2 separate regions of the Homo sapiens genome follow, and region 1 is linked to region 2. Evidence: promoter capture Hi-C in human tissues and cell types (Jung and others, 2019). All regions are on one chromosome and are shown on one strand. Each heading gives the region's core, a stretch centred on a gene start or on the middle of the fragment in contact. The rest is flanking DNA. Distances are from core to core; before and after follow the strand shown. Region 1 has its middle 87 kb from the start of FAT4. Region 2 holds the start of ANKRD50 (ankyrin repeat domain containing 50).

Region 1 (5,411 bases), core at 2,213-4,712, 510 kb before region 2:
TGTTGTTGCTTTTTTTGTTTGTTTGTTTTGAGACGGAGCCTCGGAGCCTCGCTCTGTTGCCCAGGCTGGAGTGCAGTGGCGCAATCTCGGCTCACTGCAAGCTCTGCCTCCCGGGTTCACGCCATTCTCCTACCTCATCCTCCCGAGTAGCTGGGACTACAGGCGCCTGCTACCACTCCCGGCTAATTTTTTGTATTCTTTAGTGGAGACGGGGTTTCACCGTGTTAGCCAGGATGGTCTGGATCTCCTTGTGATCCGCCCGCCTCGGCCTCCCAAAGTGCTGGGATTACAGGCATGAGCCACCGCACCCGGCCTGTATTTTTCAGTTCTAAGATGCTCATTTATTTATTTTTATAGATTTTAATTCTTTGTTGAAATTTTTAATCTTTTCATCTGTTTTGTACATCTTTTTCTCTATATGTAATATCTTAGAAAATATATTTATGAAATATATCAGTGATAAATATTTAAAACTGTTTAACTGTCTAATTCAATATCTGGATTATCCATAGGGCTGCATTATTTTCTATTTTTCTCATAATGTGGAGAAGAATATCAAATCCAGACCTCCCCTACTTTCCAGAGGACTATTTATAAAGACTATATGAATGTAATCATCATCTAAAATTTCAGTGTTTCAGCTTTTCTTTTTCACCAGTCAACTTTGTTTTATTACATTAAGGAATAGCTGAACATTTGCAACAGTTTTCCAGTCTAACAAATTCATTTTCTTAGTGAAGACACTGATTTTTAATGTCTTAATTGTCTTATTTGTAAAATGAGAAAAATCAAACTATAAATATTTTAGATCTGTGGTTTGGCCAATATGATATTTCTAATGAAGTGTCAAAATAGGAGATTTAATACAATGTGAGTTTAAATTCGTAATTATGCACTGTTTACTCCACTTACTATTTTTAGCAATTAGTTGGTGTTTAGAGGCTGGTGTTCTGGAGTCCTATTGAGAGGTGACAGCGTGCTGGTAGTCTTCACAGCCCTTGCTCGCTCTCGGCGCCTCCTCTGCCTGGGCTCCCACTTTGGTGGCACTTCAGGGGCCCTTCAGCCCACCACTGCACTGTGGGAGCCCATTTCTGGGCTGGCCAAGGTCGGAGCCGGCTCCCTCAGCTTACAGGGAGGTGTGGAGGGAGAGGCGCGAGCGGGAACCGGCTGCGCACGGCGCTTGCGGGCCAGCTGGAGTTCCGGGTGGGCGTGGGCTTGGCGGGCCCTGCACTCGGAGCAGCCGGCCGGAGCAGCCGGCCAGCCCTGCCGGCCCCAGGCAATAAGCGGCTTAGCACCCGGGCCAGCGGATGCGGAGGGTGTACTGGTCCCCCAGCAGTGCCAGCCCACCGGCGCTGCGCTCAATTTCTCGTGGGCCTTACCTGCCTTCCCGCGGGGCAGGGCTCTGGACCTGCGGCCCGCCATGCCTGAGCCTTCCACTCCTCCACGGGCTCCTGTGCGCCCCAGCCTCCCCGATGAGTGCCACCCGCTGCTCCACGGCACCCAGTCCCATCAACCACCCAAGGGCTGAGGAGTGCGGGCACACTGCGCGGGACTGGCAGGCAGCTCCACCTGCAGCCCCAGTGCGGGATCCACTGGGTGAAGCCAGCTGGGCTCCTGAGTCTGGTGGGGAAGTGGAGAACCTTTATGTCTAGCTCAGGGATTGTAAATACACCAATCAGCACCCTGTGTCTAGCTCAGGGTTTGTGAATGCACCAATGGACACTCTGTATCTAGCTACTCTGGTGGGGCCTTGGAGAACCTTTATGTCTAGCTCAGGGATTGTAAATACACCAATCGGCACCCTGTCAAAACAGACCACTTGGCTCTACCAATCAGCAGGATGTGGGTGGGGCCAGATAAGAGAATAAAAGCAGGCTGCCCCAGCCAGCAGTGGCAATCTGCTGAGGTCCCTTTCCACACCGTGGAAGCTTTGTTCTTTTGCTCTTTGCAATAAATCTTGCTGCTGCTTGCTCTTTGGGTCCAGACTGCTTTTATGAGCTGTATCTCTCACCATGAAGGTCTGCAGATTGACTCGTGAGACCACGAGCCCACCGGCAGGAACGAACAATTCCAGAGGCGCTGCCTTAAGAGCTGTAACACTCCCCGTGAAAGTCTACAGTTTCGCTCCTGAGCCGGTGAGACCACGAACCCAACAGAAGGAAGAAACTCTGAACACATCTGAACGTCAGAAAGAGCGAACTCCAGACGTGCCACCTTAAGAGCTGTAACACTCACCCCGAGGGTTTGCCGCTTCATTCTTGAAGTCAGTGAGACCAAGAACCCACCCAGTCCAGACACACTGAGTAAACCTCATTTATTTATGGCCGTGGATCACATTCCAAGGAAGCGTGGCTTCTCATTGCCTCTGAGAATTTTAACATTCTTGAGCATACCTGAAAGTGAAAACCAAATCTCAGGGTGCTTTTCTTTAGTATATATTTTAAATGCTTTATATCTAACTTTTGAGTTGGTGCAACACTGCCTAAATATACTCCTCTTTCTTAAACTGTACAAGTGTTCTTGTAACAAGCTATTTTTTGGTCTCAAATGGAATGAGTTATTTTAAAAAGGTCATATATTTCTTCTCTCATTGAATTTGGCAAATAAGGTGGCTTTTTTAAGACACTTTGACATTGGTGCTTTTTGCTAGGTGGATCACTATGAATGATAAATCTCTGTGATGGTCTGTGACAAGGAACAACATTTATTAACATACACACATTTACACCTTTTCTATTTCCTCTCTTCCACCTTCTGCATTCTGATGTTAATTTTTGCTTTGCACCCTAGCTCTTTGTTCCACCATCTTCTCGTTGTTTTGTGAGGAAAGGTCTGCTTTTGCCAGCCTAAGTCCCAAAATGTTAGTGACAAGGTAGAAAATGTAGGCAGAGAAAGATAAGGCTGTAGAGATCATTTGAAAGACTGTGGTTTTGTTTGCTGGGATATTTCCCAGACCTTTGCTTATTACAAAAAAAAGAGAATAAAATCAAAGCATAGGAAAAGTAAAACAAAACCACTAAAAAATTCAACAAAAAATCTGAGATTTTTAACTTTATACATTAGAATTCAGAAAATAATGGAGATAGAAAAGGAGCAAATGTGGGGATTTGGAGGAAGTGAAAGTTCAGATGTGTGAGAGGATGAAAAAGGAGAGAATATGGGAAGTTAAGGACTTTTTACTTTGGGGTTATGAATTGGATATCCTTTAATATTCTTATATAAATGTATTTCAAGACTTGTCATTAATGGCTTTTGGCAGCTTGATTATATCTTTAATTGGGTCACTAACATGAGCCTGAGCCACATGGGAGTCCATCTGGATTCCTCCATGACTTGAACTTGTCACAACTGCTTTGCATGCTGCCAAAGTGAGTATGTTTCTCTTTCATCCTCATGCTTCTTGGTCTCCTGGACAGCGTTTGGCCAGATTCACCATACTGTCCTACTGGAACACAAAATCCTCTTTCAGATTCCATGACACCATTTCCTTCTAGTTTTTCTTCTAACTCTCTGGCCACTCGTCCTGTGAGCCTTTCCCCTCGGCCCCATCAGCAGTTTCTCAGGACTCAGTTCCAGGTCTTTCTACTCCACTGCATACCCTGTCCTGTGGGGAGCTCTCCTAAATCCATGCTTTTGGACACTATCTGTGGTTTGATGATTCCAAGTGTATATCTGCAATCTGGATTCAGATCATTGTGCACTTGAAATTTTCACTTGGATGTCAGGCTAAGTTCTCAAAATTAAAATCCTAAAACAGAATTTCTGCTTTTACCCATAAAACCTCATTAACTGTACTTGAGCATATATTACTATCATCCTTTCTATTTAGTTCTTCTTTTTATTTTAACCCCCACATCTAATCCATCAAATCTGTCAATTCTTTCTCTAAAATATATCTCGCATCTGTACATTTCTTTCTGTCTTCTCCAGGGTGACCCTAGTTACTTCTGCTTGTCTCCACCTTCTTCCTCTATTGCTTATTCAAGTCAATCTTTAAACAATTATAAAATAATATTCACACACTCACACCCACACACACACAAATATACAGAAATTGGAGACAGCATACTCTATTAAAATTTTTCAGTGTCTTCCTATTTTTTTTCAGAGAAAATCTGAATTTATAATATTGGTGTATAGGAACCTGTATGGCCTGACCCATTCTCATTTGCCCAGCCTCATATCAGTTTCCCTCTCTCCACCTTCCAGCTACATGGGCCTCATTTACTTCTTGAATGTCCTAGCTATGTCTCTTTTTGGGGACTTTGTATATATAATTGCTGTTATTTTAAGGGCTTTTATTTAACTAATTACAGTTAGGCGATTGTCATATTGCTGGACACAGTTTAAATATCACCTCTTCAGAGATATTCCTTGATTATGCTTAGTAATCAAGAACAATCTTGATTAGTAGAATAGCCTCCTCCTATTACTCTTTCAGGAGTATCAGTATCCTTCAATGCATTTGGGCATTTATAAGCAATTTATTGGTTACTTATTTACTTCTTCCTCACTGAATGAGGAAAGTAAAGATAGTAAATATAGCCTCCTTCTATTATGCTTTCAGAAGTATCAGTGGCCTTCCTAGAATTTGGGCATTTATAACTCATTTATTGGTTACTTATTATGTTCTTCCTAGTTGAAAGCTACGAAAGGGCAAGATATTTGTTTTATTCACTGAGTGCACCGTTTGGCATAAAAAAAAGCATTCAATAAATATTAGCTTAGTGGGAAACTTTTAAAAAATTAGTTTATTTCCTTTGGCGTACCTTGGTGGATATTTGCTAGGTCTTCAACTCACAGCCTGTTAATATAAGTATTTCTTTAAGAGAAATACCTTTTTAAGAAGATCTAGTTACTCCTATAACTACTGCAACCACTTATTTAGGGTAAACTCTTTTCTAGCCACTACATGAAGCTCTCTTACATACTGTGTGTCATCCACTATATTATTATTTCTATCTCCATTTATAAAAGTAAATAAATCGAAGCTTTGAGAGGCCAAGTTCGTAATGTTCTAGAGTTGAATTGGGAAAGCAGTTTCATAATGCCATAAAGTTTCACAGTGTTCACCATTCTCATCTCTGAGCAAGCCACTAACCATGGAATTATCCTAGGGTCATGGTGAGTGAACTGTTTCATTCCTCCTAGTGCATTCCATGCTGTTCAACTGTAGAGCTTATCACTTTCTTTCAGAAGGGTCCAAATCCAAGGATTAAGAGGCACTAGAAAAAGCTTCCAAAATTTTCTACCCTTCACAAAACATATATGAATTGAAACTTACATGCTTTTCATTTAAGTATCATTGATAACCTCTCATTTCCCAAAGAAGGAGAAAAAAGGACGAATTCTACCACTTACTCTGGTCATCAAAAACTTAATATTCTTACTTCAGAATGATTGATGCACCA
Region 2 (5,340 bases), core at 1-2,500:
CCCTAATTCTGGAGAATTTATACTCTGCCTCTTTTGCTTGTGTTTTAGGAAAGAAGCCCAAAATTCAGGGTACATGAATTAAAATTAAATACTAAGATCAGTAAACCTCAATTGGCACGAATAAACAATATGAAAGAGTAAGCACAAACACGATCTATTTGTTTATCCATCTTTCTTATTGTGATAGCTATACTATGAAATTTCTAAAACTAGATGGGAGACTGGCTTAATATTTTGGCAAATAACCACATGCAAGTTAATGAGGAATGGGAAATAGAGCACTCTGGATTTTAGCATAAACAATTAAAATAAAAAATGCTACATTTCCTATTCCATCAGTTGACGGTATACTTATTTTCCCGGGAGAAATTTGGAATCTAAGCAACTCAGGTCCAGTAAGTGCAAACAACTGACATGCTTAGTCCAACAGGCCCCTGTGAGCAGGCCCTCTAGGGCATTTCCTGACGCCACATGACCAAGACCTTCCCCCCTAGTGGACGCTGCGGGTGATCAAGTGGCCCTGAGGAGCAGGGGCCTGAGACCCAGTCAAGCCTGCTGTCAACCTCCATCTGATGGAGGCCACGTCCTTTTCATGAGGCTGGTAGGAATGTCGCTGTATACCCCCACTATTTCTATTTTCGCAACATTCTTCCCAGTCTTTTCCTTCCTTCTCTTCGTCCCAGCCAAAGTAAAAGCATCCCTGGAATTTAATGGACTGAAAGGAGACCGGACGACTGAGGGGTAGAACGGGGCCCGAAGTGGCTTTGGAAGCAACGGGGTTAAGGGAGAGGCAAAAGGGTTGAGCAGAGAGAGGCAAGAGGCAATCTCCCCCTACCCAACTGCCCCTCCCAGGAGCAGATACGGCACCAACAGCCGGCGAGTCCCTCCGGCCTGGAAGACAAAGGAAGGATCAGGGCCCAGTGGTGACGGGGAGGGTGGGGGCAACGACTCGCGTGAGCTCGGAGACGTGAGAACGCAGCCCCCGCCCCGTTCTCCGCCTCCCCTGAGAAAGGCGGGGCCCCCACGCCGCCCCGAGACAGGTCTCCCCGCCGCGCCGGCAGCGGGTCCCAGGCGGCCGCACACGCCCAGGCACGGGATGCTGCGGGAGAGCGCGGTGGGGGAGGGGAAGGACGCGGAGGCGGAGCCGGCGGGCAAAGAAAGGCCGAGCGGCGGGGCGGGGGCGGGGGCGGGGGCGGGGTCTGGGCTGGGCGGGCGGGGCGGAGCCGGCCGGCCGGGGGCTGCCTGAGACAGTTACTGCCCTGACGGCGGCGGCGGCGGCGGTTGGCCGGTGGGGGCTGGGGCGAGCACGACCGATTCTGCTGGGAAAGCTGGAACTGGCAGCCGCCGGGGGCCAAGAGGAGGATCCGGAGCTGGGAGCGTGCCCCGGGCCCGGCGGAGGAGGCGGCTGCAGTTGGAGTGGAGTCTTGGGAGCGCTGCTGGCAGCGACTTCTCAGCGAAGCAAGTGTCTGAGACTGAGAGTCCCTAACAGCGGCAGCGGCGGCCACGGCGGCGGCTGGGGCCGAGGTAACCGGGGGGCGGCGGCGGCGGTGGAAGCGAGGCCCCTCCCTCGGGTTGGAAGCTGGGAGGCCGAGGCCGTGGCTTGGACCTGACCCAACCACCCACCCTCTCCGGCCTCGAGCCCCAGATTTGCCCTCTTCCCTCGCACCGCCGTCGGCCGGGTGGGAGCGGGAGCGGGGCATGGGGCGGGAGCGCAGAGGCGGAAGCCGACCGGGAGGCGACCCCTCGTCTGGGATTGGCAAGGACCTCAGTCACCCCCTCCCCCTTCAAAAGACACACCCCAATCTCGGTGCGGGGCGGGGTGCAGAGGCGCTCCCAGCCTCTGGAAGGGCAGACCTCGGTGTGGAGGCTGCACCTTCGCTCGTGGCCTCTCTGAGGTGGCTCCCCTGTGGCTCCTCTGGGCGGTTCCAACCCAAGGTGGTGCCCGGCGCTGGGAATCCCGGAGTTCCTTTTGTCTGTCAGCTGAAACTGGAGGCCGGACCTGTGGGCAGACACCCACCAGCACCGAAGCACTCTACTCTTTATCCCTTTCCTGTCTTGGAAGGAATTTCTCTCTAGCAGCCTTTTCTCCGGCCAGACTGGTAGATTTTATCCCTGACCTCCATCCTTGGCCCAGAGGAAGGAAGGATTCACATTTTACTTGTGTTTGCTTTATCATTCTTATAAGAACAGTCATCCCCCATCGTTTTTGTTTTTTTTTTTTAAACCGTTTCCCATCCAGCTGCAACCCTGGTAATCTTCCCCTAGATTTTTGCACATTATCAACAAAGAAGTGTGGCTGGAGGAGTAGACAGTCCTTGACTGACTGGACTGTGTAAGTTAATAGAGCTTCCTTAGCTGGCGCTGTTCTACCAGTCTACTGTGAATGAGCGTTTTGCCTGGAGTTAAGGGTGTTACTGTATGTGCGTAAAGTTTCTCCCCCCCTCCTTTGCTATGGTGAAGTTGCAAAAATCTTGGGTAACTTGATTAAAATGTGGCTGTTTGGGAAGCATAACAATGAGGAAGAAAAATGCAGAAGGGAGAATGTGATTATTTCAGTGGTTTTTGTCCAACTTTTTGAAAGTGCCAAAGGTGAAGTACGTGGATTTTTGAGATTACGTTAACTGGTACACTGCAACCTTTATTGTCCTTAATAAGTTTTTAACATATGATATTTTGCACTGAGGTATTTTTGTTTGTTTTATTTTAGTTACTTGTGGAAATTGTTGATTACCCGGACGTCTTAAAACCAAGAAACCTGTGAACAGGTTCATTAAGAATCTGCTGTCTTGAAAAATGCATATTATGAATGCTTTGAATTAAGAAGGTGTTAACAGTGGTTGTCATTTCTGCCACATAAGAGACTATAATCTGAAACAGTTCCTGGCAGTTGCCCAGATGCCTGAAACTGGCACGATCTAGTACTCTTGAGTGATCATCCTTCAACGAGAAATACAGAGCTACTTACATACTGTACCTCATACCGTATAAATGTAATCTCTCTGATGCCATTTAATGCAGTGGACCTCTTTTCAGAATCTAATTGTCAGATGCAGAATTAACACTTGGAATCTGGAGAAGCATTTTGTACAAATTGAAAGATTGGGTTTTTTCTTTAGTTTTCCACATGTATTGTCTCATCTCTGTTCTTGAAACATCCACAATCACATAAACTCCAGTTATAACCATGGAGTTATGTGACTCATTAAAATTTAGGAAAAGTGTTGCTGAGCTGTGGAATCAGGCGTTTCTCCCTCAGTTCAACAACTAATACATAGACTGCTGATCAAGAATAAGGAACCAAATAAAGTCATGCACGTTCTGTTGACAGAGGAACTCTGTGGCTGTTGAATTTTACTGTAACTAGTTACTCTGTCTTCAGAGTCAACTTAATATACAAGTTATGTCATAATGGATGGAAAGACCTGTGTTGATGTATCCAGACTCTAGCAAATGAAGATAAAAAACCCGTTATGACTAATCCTTGGGAAGAGAAAGTCTGCAAAATGGCTCAAACCAGTTTACTGCAAGGGAAGCAGTTTTACTGTAGGGAGTGGGTTTTCCACAAGCTTCAGCATTGCCTCCAGGAGAAAAGTAACTGCTGCAATAGTGCTGTCAATGCACCATCACTTGTAATGAATTCTGGGAATAATGCTAGTGGTGTCTCTGGAAAGGGAGCTGCCTGGGGTGTGTTGTTGGTAGGAGGGCCTGGCAGTGGCAAGACGGCCCTATGTACTGAACTCTTATGGCCAAGTTCACCTGCAAGTTTGCAGAGAGGTTTACATCGCCAAGCTTTGGCCTTTCATTTCTGCAAAGCCCAGGACTCTGATACTTTGTGTGTTGGAGGGTTTATTAGAGGTCTAGTAGCCCAGATCTGCCGCAGTGGACTACTCCAAGGATATGAGGACAAGCTAAGGGATCCAGCAGTCCAAAGCCTCTTACAGCCTGGGGAGTGCGAGAGAAACCCAGCCGAAGCATTTAAAAGGTAACAATAAAAATGTCATGGTGTTCAGATTTCTATGCTGAAATTAAATTAATTTTTAGTTGTAGTTTTTTGTTTTAACTTTGTGGGTTACTTTTACTGGTGCTGTACATTTGGCCTTAATCTGAAGTTATGAGTATACCTGTTTACTTTGAATATCAAAGGAAGTAAAATTTAGGTTTTGGTATTGCACAGCATATGGATTAAAATGGATTAAAAGTGTATCTTAATTTTACTTAATAACATAATGTTACTTACATTGCCTATAAATGGTAAGGGAAATTTGTTCTTATGGTAGAGAAGCACATTTAGCTGTCTGGAAATAGGTTACATTTTCAGAGGGTGAACTGAACTTAGAGTAATTATCAGTATAGCATCTAGTATCTTTTTATTTTTTTCCTTATAGTAGTAGTATTTTTTTAAGTAAGAAAGGTTTTCTTTAAAGGAGATTATTGGCCACTGAGAATCTGAAGAAAATTTGCTGATGAGTTTTGGGATTTATTCTCCTATTAACTAACTAATTGAAAAACTGGTATTTAGAAGTATGTGAATTTATAAAATAGCGAACATTTGGGATCATCTTACTACTTTTACTTTTAGTGAGTGGTACAAAGAAAGTGTTTTTTCCTAACTTCAGCAAAGCTTTTTTTCCATGGTAAATGGATTGGTCCAGGAAGTGAGCAAGTTGCTTTCCAGAGTGGTTTCAGATTCAAATCTGTTCAAGAAAATATAATTCCTTGAAAACATTTTTTTTTGCATATCATGCCTCTGCTCATTGTAAAAGTAGCAGGCAAATTGTTAGTTTGTGCTTCACTTCTGCTTGAATTACCCATTTTGCCATAAGCTTTTTCTCTACAATAACATTCTTAGCGGGCAAAAGTTTGTTCTCCAAAGATTCTGGTATACTGTGCACTGGAGGTTTGTGTGTGTGTGTGTGTGTGGCTCTCTTCTGCTTGAGTGTGTTTCTAGGAGAGATTTGAATCACTCTAAAAAGAGTGATGTTTGTTTTTATGATATCCTCAAATCTAATGGGGTGAAATCTATACATTTTGAAAGTAATATTGAAAATATTTAATAGTAATTACAGTAAACAGTAAGTGTCAGTCATTATTCTAAGTGCTTTACAAATATTAGATCATTTAATCCTCATAATAATCCTGTGAGGTAGTTACTACTCCCATTTTATAGATGAGGAAACTAAGGTACAGAGAGGCTAAATAAATTGTTCAAGGTTACAGACTAGTAAATGGCAGGGCTGAGATTTTAAATGTGTGTGTGTGTATGTGTGTGTGTGTGTGTGTGTGTGTGTGTATGTGTTAGTAATCTTAGAAATTCTCTGGGGGACTTGATGGGAAGAGGAG

Evidence for each region. Contacts are between HindIII fragments. The study calls those that stand out against the background at their distance.
Region 1: a fragment that was not itself captured here is called in contact with the fragment with the promoter of ANKRD50 in region 2 in 1 of the 25 tissues and cell types used here (H1 embryonic stem cells).

Annotation. Positions count from the first base shown.
Region 1 is chr4:125,225,705-125,231,115 of GRCh38, reverse strand. No RefSeq gene overlaps it. Among named protein-coding and RNA genes, the nearest start is that of FAT4, 87 kb to the left of the region's middle. The HindIII fragment of the contact is 5,504 bases long and covers 711-5,411 here.
Region 2 is chr4:124,708,642-124,713,981 of GRCh38, reverse strand. ANKRD50 (ankyrin repeat domain containing 50) reads left to right here and starts at 1,250. Exons shown (of 5, transcript NM_020337.3): 1 at 1,250-1,524; 2 at 2,708-3,982. The coding sequence starts at 3,471. RefSeq lists enhancers at 711-1,276, 1,277-1,842 and silencers at 994-1,373, 1,524-1,763. The HindIII fragment of the contact is 11,202 bases long and covers 1-4,205 here.